Regions from separate parts of the Homo sapiens genome. Here region 1 is linked to region 2. The links are contacts of gene promoters, found by promoter capture Hi-C in blood cells and fetal thymus (Javierre and others, 2016). All regions are on one chromosome and are shown on one strand. Each heading gives the region's core, a stretch centred on a gene start or on the middle of the fragment in contact. The rest is flanking DNA. Distances are from core to core; before and after follow the strand shown. Region 1 has its middle 6.5 kb from the start of CD300LF. Region 2 holds the start of CD300C (CD300c molecule).

Region 1 (6,707 bases), core at 2,913-5,412, 170 kb after region 2:
AGAATTCGCCAAGTGGTTCTGAGTAGCTGCTCCTCTAACCAAGTGCCTATGGGGAATACAGGGGAATCGGCTCTTCTGCAGGCCTTGCGTCCTCAAAAACTCATTTGAACCTGTAATCCTGGTTTGACCATTGACCTATACACAAGCCAGTTATATCCCTGGGCTTCCCTGTCCCCATATGTGAAAGCAGGGATTAGACAGGTCATCTGAGATTCTCCCTGCTCTAACGCACCTATGTATGTATGTATGTGTGTGTGTGCATGTATGTACGTGAATGGTTGAACCTGTCATTCTGCCCTGGCCTTGTGTGCTCTGCTAGGGGACTCTGTCTAGCACCTAAGAACCAGTCTCTGTTTTTATAAATCATAATTCTTCTCAGAAACCATTCCTGAGCCCTTTTAGTTCCCCTCACTTCCAATTGCACTTTATCTTTCCCAACCACTTGTGCTATGTTTCATATTTTCCATCATTATTACATTGAATCCTCACTATAAATCTAGAGGAAAGGTGATGCGTTTCTCATTTTTCAAAGAAATTGAGACGCAGAGAGCAAGTGACGTGTCCAAGGTCACATAGCTAGTAAGTGGCAGAGCCAAGATTCAAACCCAGGCCTGGTTCATATAAGCCATGCTGCCTTGTGTCAGGGTCAGGGAGGGGGCAGAGAAAGAGAGAGAGAGAGAGAGAGAGAAAACAGCCCTTAGATCCTGCTCAGTGCTGACAATGAAGAATTGATAAAGCAGAGAATCCCGGAGCTGGTTGTCACCAGGGCGTCCACTCCAAGGTTGTTTTTTAAACAAATTTCCTGGCCGGGTGCAGTGGCTCACGCCTGTAATCCCAGCCCTTTGGGAGGGCAAGGTAGGCGGATCACCTGAGGTCAGGAGTTCAAGACCAGCCTGACCAACATGGTGAAACCCTGTCTCTACTAAAAATACAAAAAATTAGCTTGGCATGGTGATAGGTACCTGTAGTCCCAGCTGCTCAGGAGGCTGAGGCAGGAGAATCACTTGAACCTGGGAGGCAGAGGTTGCAGTGAGCTGAGATCGCACCATTGCATTCCAGCCTGGGCAACGAGAGCGAAACTCTGTCTCAAAAATAAAATAAAATGAAATAAAACAAATTTCAGAATGAAAGAATGTTTTATCATGCACTGAAAACTGACTTATTAAGCAGGTAACTGATACCACCAGCCTTGAACATTTTCCAGATCTCATGCCCCTCTTCTGCAGTGTATGGAATGGGAATCTGGGCCTTACCCAAGTTCTTGTCCAGGAATTCAGGCACAGGCAAAGCTTATTTCTGAGAAAAATAGGCGTCTCCAAAGAGTGAGTCTGAAAGTTTGTGTCTCTCGAATTTCATACGTTGAAACTTAACCTTCAATGTGATGGCATTACGAGGTTGAGCCTTTGGAGAGTAACTAGGTCAGGAGAGTAACTAGGTCTCCTGAATGGGATTAGTGCCCTTATAAGAAAGGCCCCAGAGGGCTGGGCGCGGTGGCTCATGCCTGTAACCCCAGCACTTAGGGAGGCCGAGGCAGGCAGATCACCTGAGGTCGGGAGGGAGTTCAAGACCAGCCTAACCAACATAGAGAAACCCCGTCTCTACTGAAAATACGAAATTAGCCAGATGTGGTGCATGCCTGTAATCCCAGCTACTCAGGAGGCTGAGGCAGAAGAATTGCTTGAACCTGGGAGGCAGAGGTTGTGGTGAGCCAAGATCGTACCATTGCACTCCAGCCTGGGCAGCAAGAGCGAAACTCCATCTAAAAAAAAAAAAAAAAAAACAGAAAAGAAAAAGAAAGGTGCCAGAGAGCTGCCTTGCCCCTTCTACCATGTGAGGACACAGCAAGAAGGAGTCCTCCCTGAGGAGTGGGTCCTCACCAGATCCTGAGCCTACCAGTGCCTTGACCTTGGACTCTCCAGGCTCCAAAACTGTGAGAAATACATTTCTGTTTATAAACCACACAATCAGCAGGGCATAGTGGCCCACACCTGTAATCCCAGCACTTTGGGAGGCCAAGGCAGGCAGATCCCTTGAGATCAGGAGCTCCAGACCAGCCTGGCCAACATGGTGAAACTCCGTCTCTACCAAAAGATACAATTAGCTGGGCATGGTGGCACGACCCTGTAGTCCCAGCTACTTCGGAGGCTGAGGCAGGGGAATCACCTGAGCCCAGGAGACGGAGGTTGCAGTGAGCCAAGATCGTGCCATTGCACTCCAGCCTAGGTGACAGAGTGAGACACTGTCTCTAAAACATCATATCATATCATACATCATATCATATCATATCATATCATATCATATCATATCATATCATATCCACCCAGTCTATGGTATTTTGTTATAGCAGCCGGGACTAAGATAGTGGGTTAGAGAAAAAAAAAGGGCTCTTTGATTTTCAGAATAGAGCACCTGTCATCTTTGCTACCTGCTCCTTGACAAAGTGGAAGAGCTGCAATTGAGGCTCCCCCTGCCTAGAAAATTTGATCTTGTTTTTAAGCACCTATTAATTGGCTAGATGTATTTGGAAAAAAAAACAAGCGTTTGTTCAGCAACAGGTAGGCTAAACTTGGGCATCCCCTTAGCTTTCATCAGATTCCCCAGTGCAATGCACCTCCTCAACACACACACAGACTTTTTCCCACTACAAAAGTAATGTGTGTTTGTTAGAGAAAAACAGTGAAATACAGATGAACACAAAGAATGCATCTTAAGTCACTCCGAATCCTGCCACACAGAAATAACTGCTGTTAAATATATGTGTGTGTATCTATTACCAATCTTTTGTTCTTCTGTAGAAAAGCAATTTATTTCAGGTTACATGAAGGATCACTCATGTATGAGTTTGCTTTACCAACTGGACTACTACCTTTATTAGGGCATTTTAATACAGGAAAAACATAAAAAGTATGGCAGTGGAGGGTGTTGATAATGGGGAAGGTTATACATCTGTGGGGGAAAAGGGTCTGTGGAAAAATCCCTGTATCTTCTGCCCAGTGTTAATGTGAACCTAGAAATTCTCTAAAAATTAAATCCTATTTTATAAAAAAGAGAGACATGGCCGAAAATACCAGCTCTGAAATACCTCCAGTTAATACTTTCTTTAAAAAGGTAAAATGCAGGCCAAGTTTGGTGGCTCACACCTTTAATCTCAGCACTTTGGGAGGCCAAGATGGGTGGATTACTTGAGCCCAGGAGATCGAGACCAGCCTGGGAAACATGGTGAAACCCCAACTCTGCAAAAAATACAAAAAAATTAGCTGGGCACAGTGGCATGTGCCTGTAGTCCCAGTTACTTGGGAGGCTGAAGTGGGAGGATCACCCGAGCCCAGAGAGGTCGAGGCTGCAGTGACTCGTCATCATGAGCCACAGCACTCCAGACTGGGCAACACAGCAAGAACTCATCTCAAAAAAATAAATAAATAAAATAAAATAATTTGCTCACAATTACCTTTCTTTTTCTTTTCCTTTTTTTTCTTTTGAGATGGGTTCTCACTGTGTCACCAAGGCTAGAGTACAGTGGTGCAATTATAGCTCAATGCAGCTGTAATTCTGGAAAATCTCCTGGACTCAAGTAATCCTCCTGCCTCAGCCTCCCCAATAGCTGGGAATACAGGCATGCACCACCAAGCCCAGCTTATTGTTTTATTTATTGTAGAATAGGGTCTTCCTATGTTTTCAAGCTGGTCTCGAACTCCTGGGCTCAAGTGATCCTCCTGCCTTTGGCCTCCCCAAGCACTGGAATTACAAGTGTGAGCCACTGTACCTGGCCAAGCAAATTATTTAAATAAATTTTTTAAAACATAGAAAAAGATTAAATGAAAAGTAAAAGTCTTATCTCCATTTCCCACCTACCAGCCCCAGAACCTCAAAGGCAATCCTCTTGGCCTCTATTGCCTCCCTGAGAAAAGTTAATCATACTCCAGCAGATAAACCTAAGTAACATATACACATTCATCATACTATATACATCACTCTGCCCCCTGCTTCTTTTGCTTAATAATGAACTTTCTCCCAAACAGTGAGACAGGAGAGTTCCTTTGACCCTTTTGCAGGTAGGAACTGGAGGGCACCAGCTCTGGGTCCAGTCGGCCATTTAGGCACCAGCAGGGACGAACTTTACTTGCTCGAACCCACTGGGTTCAGCCCCTCGTGAGAGGGAGCACACAGGCAAGTGGGTGCTAGGGCTGGGACGAGTACTTTTGGGCTCTGGCCCCACGGCAGCATGAAGGGGTGTGTTACAATTAAGGTTCTTTTAGGCCAGGCATGGTGGCTCACGACTGTAATGCCAGCACTTTGGGAGGCCGAGGTGGGTGGATCACCTGAGGCCAGGAGTTCAAGACCAACGTGGCCAACATGGCGAAACCCCATCTCTACTGAAAAAAAAAACCCAAAATTTGGCAGGGTGTGGTGGCGGGTGCCTATAATCCCAGCTACTTGGGAGGCTGAGGCAGGAGAATTGCTTGAACCCAGGAGGTGGAGGTTGCAGTGAGCCAAGATCCCACCATTACACTCCAGCCTGTGTGACAGACTGAGCCTCTGTCTCAAAAAAATAAAAGAAAAGAAAAACACAATTAATGCTCTTTTAGCAGTTGCCATCCACAGATGGCTAAGTGTTAGCCAGCTCAGCGGAGAGTCAAGGTGACAGCCTTTTTACACCCTGCCCTCTTGGTACAGAGTTAAGTGTTAACCAGCTCAGTGGAGAGCCAGGGTGACAGCCTTTTACACCCTGCTCTCTTGGTACCCGGGTTCTTGTCAGGTGTCCAGGAAGAATCAGGTCACATAGACTTGAAGGATGATGAATGCGGAGATTTTATTAAGCGGTGGAAGTGGCTCTCAGTGGAAGGGGAGCTGGAAAAGGGATGGTGTGGGAAGAAGGTGATCTTTCCCTGAAGCCTGGCTGGAGATAACCGGGCTCCTCTCTGAAGCCGTGCCATCTGAAGTTAAGCCGTGTCTATCCGTATGCTCCGATGCTCAGTTGCTTCCACTCTTGACGTTCAGCTGCTTGTCTCTTCTCTCCTTCTCAGCTACACCACTCTGCTCGTCTGCCAAGAGCTTTTTATGGGTACAGGGCTGGGGACATGGTGGGCCAGGGTGGTTTTGGAAAAGGCAACATTCAGGCAGGAAAACAGGAATGCATGTTCTCATTTAGGGCCGCAGGTCCAGGCTTGAGGGTGGAGCCATCGCCAGGACCTCGCCCTCTTTTACCCAGTATTTCCCTGCTGCAACAGGGACATACAGTACATACAGATCTTCCTCATCCTTTTACTGTTTTCACAGTACTGCATTGTATGTATATTCTAGAGTTTACTTCACTAGTCTCTACTGCTGAATTATTTGTTCTTACAAACACTACAATGAGCATCCTTATACACATATCTTGGTTTACTTTTTTTTTTTTTTTTTGAGATGGAGTCTTGTTCTGTCACCCAGGCTGTAGTGTAATGGTGTGATCTTGGCTGACTGTAACCTCCACCTCCCAGGTTCAAGTGATTCTCCTGCCTCAGCTTCCCGAGTAGCTGGCATTACAGGTGCACGTCACCATGCCCTGCTAATTTTTGTATTTTCAGTAGAGACAGGGTTTCCCTATGTTGGTCAGGCTGGTCTCAAACTCCCAACCTCAGGTGATCCGCCTCGGCCTCCCAAAGTGCTGGGATTACAGGCATGAGCCACCACGCCTGGTCCTCTTGGTTTATTTTTGCAAGGAAAGCCATAGAGTTGCTGAGTCAAAGGAATTTGCACTTGAAACCTTGATAGATATTGTCAGTTGCTATCCAAAATGGTTGCTCAATGTATACTCCCACTAATAGTGTATGTATGAGTGCCTGTTTCCCCAAATCTAAGCCAGTACTGACCATTACCAAACTTTTATCAAGCCGCTATACATTATATTGTCATTGTATCGGTTAGGGTTCTCCAGAGAAACAGAAACGGTAAGCTATATATATGGAAAGAAAGAGAGATTTGTCAGCCAGGCACAGTGGCTCACGCCTGTAATCCCAGCACTTTGGGAGGCTGAGGACGGTGGATCACGAGGTCAGGAGATCGAGACCACAGTGAAACCCCATCTCTACCAAAAATACAAAAAATTAGCCGGGCGTGGTGGCGGGCGCCTGTAGTCCCAGATACTTGGGAGGCTGAGGCAGGAGAATGGCGTGAACCCGGGAGGCAGAGCTTGCAGTGAGTCAAGATCGTGCCCCTGCACCCTGGCCTGGGCGACAGAGCGAGACTCTGTCTCAAAAAAAAAAAAAAAAAGAAAGAGAGAGAGATTTGTCCGAGAAATTGGCTTACATGACTGGGGGCTGGCAAGTCCAAACTCTGTAGGGCCAGCCCAAAGGCTGTAAATTTTCAGGCGAGAGTTGATGCTACAAACACGAGGCAGAATTTCTGCTTCCTCAGGGAAACCTCAGTTTTGCTCTTAAACTCTTTCAATTAATCAGAGGACACTCACCCAGATTACTGAAGACTTAAAGTCAGCTGCTTGGAGATGTTAACAACATCAACAAAGTACCTTCACAGCAACATCTAGATTAGTGTTTAATTGAATAAGTAGGACTATAGTCCAGCCAAGTTGACACATAAAACTAACCACATGTACACAAAAATATATCAACCTATTCACATCCTTTGTTCACTTTTCTATTGAAGTTTTCTTCTGAGAGCTCTCCTTATATGAGGGATATTACCATATGTCATATGTCTCGAAAATA
Region 2 (7,105 bases), core at 1,091-3,590:
CTTGTGAGACAGGAGGGGGCCTTTGAGGGAAGAATGATCTTCGGCACGGGAAAGGGCCCTCAGGTCCGTGCCAGTCTCAGCTCATTTCCATCCACAGGTCCCTTTGCCTGAGGGGGCAATTTCTGGGGTTCCCTCCTGTGGTAAAAGGTGCCAGAGAATAAGGGGGACACACAGGTCAGCCTCAGGGGCAGGATGTGGTTCCCAGGAGCATGAGAACCCCACCCAGGGCTCTGGGGCTCCTTCCTGTGTCCTCCAGTGGCTGCTGCAGGAGCTCCCAGGACAGGGCTGTGAGGCTGCGGCCTCAGGACCCTCCAGACAGGGCGGCATCCATGCAGGCCCCAGGGCAGGGGCAGCCTTGAGTGAGAGGAGCCAATGATGGGGGGGTCCAATTCCCCGTGGGGAAGAGCGAGTTAGACCCAGGCGGGACAGTGGGCACCCTTCAGTATGGATCCGGCCCTTGTCAATACAGGGAGGTAGCAAGGACCCCAGAGTCAGGGGTGGCCTCACAGACCCCACCCAGGAAAGTTTCAGGCCTGAGGCCGTGAGGGAGGGCCCACAGCGGGGGGTCTCCAGCCACAGGGCCAGGGTGCTTTTGTGGGCGCCCACCCTCCCAACACACACATGCAGGTGCACACACACACAAACCACACCACAACTCCTATGCAGGCACGCATACACAAAGACGCACTCACACTCATCCACACACAGCGGCACACAGTGTCCTGACTCACCAACCCCCAGGCTCACACCCTCCTGTTCCACTTCTTTCTTCAGGGACAGAATGACCAGCCCTAGGCTCAGGCAGGCCTGGTGCTGAGAAAAGGAGGGGCTCACCCGGGAACACGGACACCTCAACCTCGACAATGGGATCATGAAAGTCTCGGAGCCACGGTGTATCCACCCCACACCAGTAGGTGCCTGCGTCCTCCTCTGTGAGATTCTCCAGGGTCACTGTGAAGCTGAGGTTTGCAGGACTGTCCCTGATGGACACTCGGCCATTCCTTTTCCCTGCTGACCCTTTGGTCTCCACAATCTTGTCACATCGGAGAATCTGTGGTGGTCTGCACCAGAATTTGTTGAGGGTCCTGTGTTCCTTCTCATAGCGACACTGCACACTCAGGGATCCCCCCACGGGGCCCGCCACGGTCATGGGGTGGCTCAGAGGAAAATAGCCTGAAAAATACAAGCCAAAATCCTGTCTCCTTACCAGAGGGGCCTGGTCAGGGGTGCCGCAGTGTCAGCCCCTCATGGACCCTGGGCGTGTGGAGAAGGCAATGGCAGGCAGGCAGCCTTTGTCCACCCAGGAACAGGGACTGAGGGTGGGAGGCTCCCTCTGTGCAGAGGTGGGAAGGGCATGGGAAGTTTCCATGGAGACTGGAAAGGCAAGGCTAGGGAAACACTGGGTGTGTGCGGGCCTGTGTGTGCATGTGAGTGTGACTCTGTGTGTGTGACTGTGTGAGTGTGACTGTCTGTGTGAGTGTGACTGTGTGTGACTGTGTGTGCATGTGTGACTGTGTGTGCATGTGAGTGTGACTGTGTGTGCATGTGTGACTGTGTGCATGTGTGTGTGAGACTGTGTGAGTGTGACTGTGTGTGCATGTGTGTGAGACTGTGTGAGTGTGACCGTGTGTGCGTGTGAGTGTGACTGTGTGTGTGATCGTCCCAGATAAAATTTGTGATTGGATAACTTTGGCAATGACAGTCACAGCATCACCTCCCACCAGGGCTTCCTGTCTCGGGCACAGAGGAATAGGCCTCCCCCGTGCTGTGCCCTGCCGCCTGCTGTCCCCTGGTGAGGCAGCTGCTGACCGCTCCTGGGTGCTCCTTTGCCCTCCTCCCCTCTCCCTGCCCCACTCCCCTCTATGACCGCTACTCCAGCGCCTGCACCCCTCCCTGCCCTCTCCCACTCAGGACAGAGCTCCCCAAGTCCAGGGTCGGCCCACTCACCTGGGACAAGCAGGAGGAGCAGAGCTGAAGACCGCCACGAGGCCCAGGCCCTGGCAGTCATTCCTGTAACACGAATGTCACCTGCCACTGTGCAAGACCCCAGGAGGGGACAAAATGTAATCTCCTCCCAGCAGATCTGAGCTTCGCTTCTGCTTTTCTTCTGCTCTCTGCTTCCTTGTCCAGCCCTGTCTCAGGTCTGAGGCTGGAGAGGGTCAGGGTACAGGAAGCTCAGGGAGAGAGCCGCCTGGGCTGAGGCCGGTGCTGACAGCTCTGGGATGGTGCTAGTGGCTCCTCTCAACCCTGACGTCTGGCAAAGTCCAGGGTCCCTTGGGTGGCGATGCAGCCACTTCCCCACAGCCCACAGCTTCTGGCTTCAGTGTGTTACTCACACTGCAGAAGGCAGAGCCAAGCTGGGCCATTTCCTACCACATGGGCTGCTCCACCCTCTGTGACATGTCACTTCCTGGTCAGGATGGACAATCTTGTGGTTGGAGGCTAAATCTGCCACCTTCTTTAGCCTTGGAGGTGACCAGAGAGAGGTTGTGTCCCTTAATCTTCAGCTAGGTCCCCGCAGAGACCTCTGCCCCTAAGACCCCCAGCTCTTCTTCTGGCCTCAGAAGTTAGCGCTATGAACCCAGACACCATCTGCATGTCCCTTTTTGGTGCTGAGTCCCCAACCAGGTTAAAATCCCACAGGCTTGGGGAGTTTTCCTCTTGTGCCCCTGCCCCCAGACCTACACACACAGCGGCATCACCCACCCGAGACCCTCCTTTTCCATCTTGTCTTCTTGCCAAAATCCATGCCCCAGTGGGAATCAGGGCAGAGAACTGAGAATAGAGAGAGAGTTCAGACATGTGAAGATGCTGAAGTGGGACTTTGTGGAGGATGTGAGGCTGCGACTGAGCCAGCACACACCCCAGGGCACACGGAGGGGTGTTTGGTGACTGAGAGGACAGTTTGTCATGAGCAGCGGCTGCTGGTGTCTATCCTGGGTCCACTGTGATGGCCAGGGGCCTCCGCAGGGAGCAGACATGGCAGACAGGCCTTCCCAGGAGGCGGGAACCCAGGTCTATCCACACTCGGCATGGCTGGTTCTCCTGACGTGATGGGCTCAGGGTGTCTTTACCCTGGAAAGGGCAAGGAGGCTAGTCAGACACAGGATTTACCTCCTGTCTGTCCTGGAGGGCATCACCCCTTCTCCACCTTCTCATGCCTTAAGCATATTCCTTGACTCTCCCAACCCTCCTACAGATTTCTGTTCCTTTCTTCCTATCAGAGTCAATAGCACCAGTATGTGCACACAGCCATGAGGTTGAGTGGAGAGTGATGGGAGTCTGGGCAAACCTGGCACCATGAAGGGGTCTCTGCACCCTCGACCTGCCCTGTCCTCCCTCCATTTACACTCTCAGGGACACAGCATGCACTGGGGTCATTGGTGTTGATGCCCCCAGACTCACATCATGGGACTATCTCTAGCCCAGTGCAATCCCAGGGCCTCCAATTAGCCCAGTGCTCAGGTCTGGCCTGGGCCTGGCTTTGAAGTATCCCGGCTCTTTCATGGGCTGACCTGGTCTCCCCTTCTGCTCATACCCACCCCTTTCATTCTCCACAGAATCAGCAATGTGATCCCTGACACACACACATGGCCCTGGGGAGGCGCTGCTGAACTCCCAATGGCTCCTGCTGTCACAGGATGGCACCCACCTGACCTGGCCTCTGCACACAGGTCCTGGCAGGCCCCAGCACCTGGTAGGTGTCTCCAGCCTCCTGGATCCAGGTTCACACTGGTGCTGCCACCCTCCCCACTCGGGCCTTTGTCCAGACCCTCAACCTCCCACTCCTCTGCCTGGCTCCAGCCGACAGGGTTGCCTGCGTGTTCCTTGACCTTCCCGGGTTATGGTGGCTCGCTTTTTAGGGGTCCTCATGACCCATTTCACACTTCCCTCTCGTCTTCCTCAGTCTTTCTGTTGGCGAGTCAATGTCTGCTCCCATCTAGGGTGGCCGCCCCTTGAGAGCAGGTGCAGCCTCTTGTCTCATTCACAGCTGTGCCCGTTATCATTCCAGAGTCTGCCAAGTGCAGTTTAACAAACTGGCTGTTGAAAGGATGAATGGGTGAATGGATACATGACATCCTGATGTCCCACTGCCTCAGAGGACTTAGTCATCCAAAGTTGGTGCACCATTTCCTGCCCAGGCTGGGGAGGAGACAGGAAATGCTGTCTGGAGGCCCTGAAGCCACCTGACCCAGGGAGGCATCTGCCCCTGGCAGGACATGTGCACCTGCTCCTCTCTCTGCCTCAGGGCTCCTCCTCCAGGGATCCTGGCGCTCACCCCCTCCTTTCTCCTGATCCCTGCTTGCTCAGCGCCTATTAGAGGGGCTTCACCACAGTCCCCCTCAGCTCCTGCACAGCAGTCACCCCACTTCTCTTATTTCATTCCGTGACTCTTTTCATCTCTGACTTTTATATTTCTTCTGGAATTTATGCACGTATTTTTGCATCTGTTTATCATTTCTATCCCCCGCCTGGAATATGAGCTCAATGAAAACAGAGCTCCTTGCCTGGGTGTTCACGGCTGGACTCCAATGCCAGGTCAGTGTCTGATACACCAGAAGCTCCCATAAGTATCTGCTGAATGTAAAAATAGGTGAGGACCCCCAGGCGTGTCCCTCCTTGACCTGGTGGACTCATGGGGATCATCTGCCTCACAGGGGTCTTGGGTGTGGCATCCCTGGAACCGAAACGATGGTCAGCTGATAACGTCTTCCTTTGTCTGGATAAGCAGACATGGTCTGCACTAGTAAGCAAAAGACTCAGTTAACTACCACATTAAGAAGTCACGGCCCTCAACCAATTTCCATATTTGAGTCAGTTAAAAGCCACAGCCCTGGAATGAAGGGGAGGTCAGGTCCCCTTGAGGAAGGAGGAAGGAAAGGCCTGGCTACCATGCCACAACTCACACTGATAATCTTCTACCAGCCCTCCCGCAGGGACCAGAAGACACTGGCCAGGATGTGTCTACATAAGGAACGGAATTGTCAGGTTTTGGGGGGAATCCTGGATCCTCTTCTGCAGGGACCCCAGTCCTGAGAGGCCCAGCCTGGGGCTTAGTCCACTATTCTGAGCAAAGGCCTGTGGAGATCAGGGAACAATGGAGTTTTCACCCAGGTCTGACTTAGTGGGCATGATAGGTCCAGAATCTATGTATTGTCATTTCTTAAAGTTCGAAAGCATCATTGAATTGACACACTCAGCAAATGGAAGCAGCCACATATTCTGCACTCCTGGACCCGGGGAGTGTGGGCCATTATGGTGGCAAAGGTGCAGGGGAGTCCTGGACCTGCTCCTCCCTGTGAAAACGTTGAAGGAAGCAATGCCAAGCTCCTGGAGAAATGGAAAGGTGCAGAGAGGGCATCAGGCACTTAGAGGTGTTGGTGACAGCTCGAGGTTCAGCTGGCCAGGGCGTGCACATGAGACATGGAGTCACAGCTCAGGGCGTCTGTGTCCATCAGGTTCACGTGTGATTCATGGATCAGGCACAGGGAAAAGGCTGAAGGAGGCTCACAGAGAATTCCAGGAGATGTGGAGAGAGCAGCCCGGGAGGGAGTGGTCAGGAGGTCATTCCAGTCCCGCAAAGGGGTTCTGTCGCAGTGCAGGGCCTTGATGGACAGTAGATGCTACTGGTTCTCACCCTCTGGCCAACTCTGCCTGCTTCCAGAGCTTCTCTGAGGTCCGTTCACCCAGACGACGGCACCCAGCATGCTCAGGAGCAGGGGCAGCTCCAGGACCAGGAGCAGGACGTAGGGGCTGCTGAACAGGGAGCTGTGGGGACACGGTGATGGCAGTGAGTCATCTCCCCAGGGGAAGCCCAGGTGCCCTCCACCTTCTGCCTGTCTGTGAACCCAGGTCCTGTGGCCACACAAATCCCTGTGAGGACAAACTCTGTATATGACAACTCCTCTAAAGAGATCATTAGACCCTGACCTTCAGCCTGAGAGTCCCTGGAGTCTCAGGACTGCCTATAAGGAAGCACGTGGCCGTGAAAATGGTGCATGAGGACAGGGAGGGATCCAGGTGAGAACCACACCCACAAGATCTCTACATCCCGGGGTTATTCACTGGCGCATGGAATCAGTCATGTAGTTTGATGCCTGTATGGCCATCATTTCCCGAGAAGGTGAGGACTATTCATGTTATTCACAAGTAACTGGTACCTGCCCTCTGGTTGCAAATATCAGCCTGTAAAATTCATGGTTGTTGAAGGAATGGAAGGAATGAATGAATGGCCCAGCTCAGCTCTCAGCTCCTCAGAGGACTGGGCTCATCAAACAGGATGAGACTCGGGCCAGGGCTGCAAGGGAGGCCAGGGGAGAGGGCCGGGGTCACCGGGCACCAAAACATCTGCCCCCTGCCCTGGCCTGGCCGGGTCCCAGGACTCCCTTGCAGGACATTTGCCTCACTCCTCCCTCTGCCTGGACCCCTCTTCCCCCAGACCCCAGAGCGCCCTGCTCCCAAATCCTGCAGGTCTCCACGCTCATGTCCTCTAATCCACAAACCCTCTTCTGATCATTGTCAGTGAAATAGCGACTCCAACACCCACACACATGCTCCCCAAACCCAAGGCACAAATATCTCTTCCCAGCAGTCATCAAACTTCGCTGTATTTGTCTGTCAGCCACTGTGCTGACCTGTTCACTGTGTGAATCCACCTGGTAGAACCCAAACTCCACCAGAGCAGGACTGTGGCTGAGTGGTTCCCTGCTGTGACCCTATCCTGACAGGAGCACCTGGCACTTAGTAGGACCTTCACATTAGGTGTGGGAGGCGTGAGCAAAGAAGGGACCAGAAGAAGAGAGACACAACCATCCCATCTCTCCCCAGCCTACAGGAAAGGCTGCCCAGGTGGCAGTCCTGGGGGCACGAACCTTACCCTGGGTGTGGGCTGGGATCAGGGCTGTCCTGTCTGGTAGAGCTGGGCCAGGTGCACGCTGGGACGTAACGGGAGGACCCGAGGTGCCCGTGGAGCTCTGAGACTGGAGGCCGCTGTCAGGGCTGCAGGGGCATCACAGGTCAGTCTCGGCGACCTCGCCTGAGTCTCCCACTCATCATCACCTGTTCAGCTCTGATTTCCACAGACACGATCACTCAGTACATGCTG

The links. The method cuts DNA at HindIII sites, captures the fragments that hold promoters and counts their contacts. A CHiCAGO score of 5 or more calls a contact.
Region 1: a fragment that was not itself captured here is called in contact with the fragment with the promoter of CD300C in region 2 in 1 of 17 cell types (monocytes); the score reaches 6.4 in monocytes.

Annotation. Positions count from the first base shown.
Region 1 is chr17:74,716,048-74,722,754 of GRCh38, forward strand. It overlaps a transcript of RAB37 not described here. Among named protein-coding and RNA genes, the nearest start is that of CD300LF, 6.5 kb to the left of the region's middle. The HindIII fragment of the contact is 5,750 bases long and covers 1,288-6,707 here.
Region 2 is chr17:74,543,775-74,550,879 of GRCh38, forward strand. It overlaps CD300C (CD300c molecule), which reads right to left and starts at 2,341. Exons shown (of 4, transcript NM_006678.5): 1 at 1,948-2,341; 2 at 835-1,173. The coding sequence starts at 2,008. It also overlaps a transcript of LOC107985074 not described here. RefSeq lists an enhancer at 7,039-7,105. The HindIII fragment of the contact is 25,491 bases long and covers 1-7,105 here.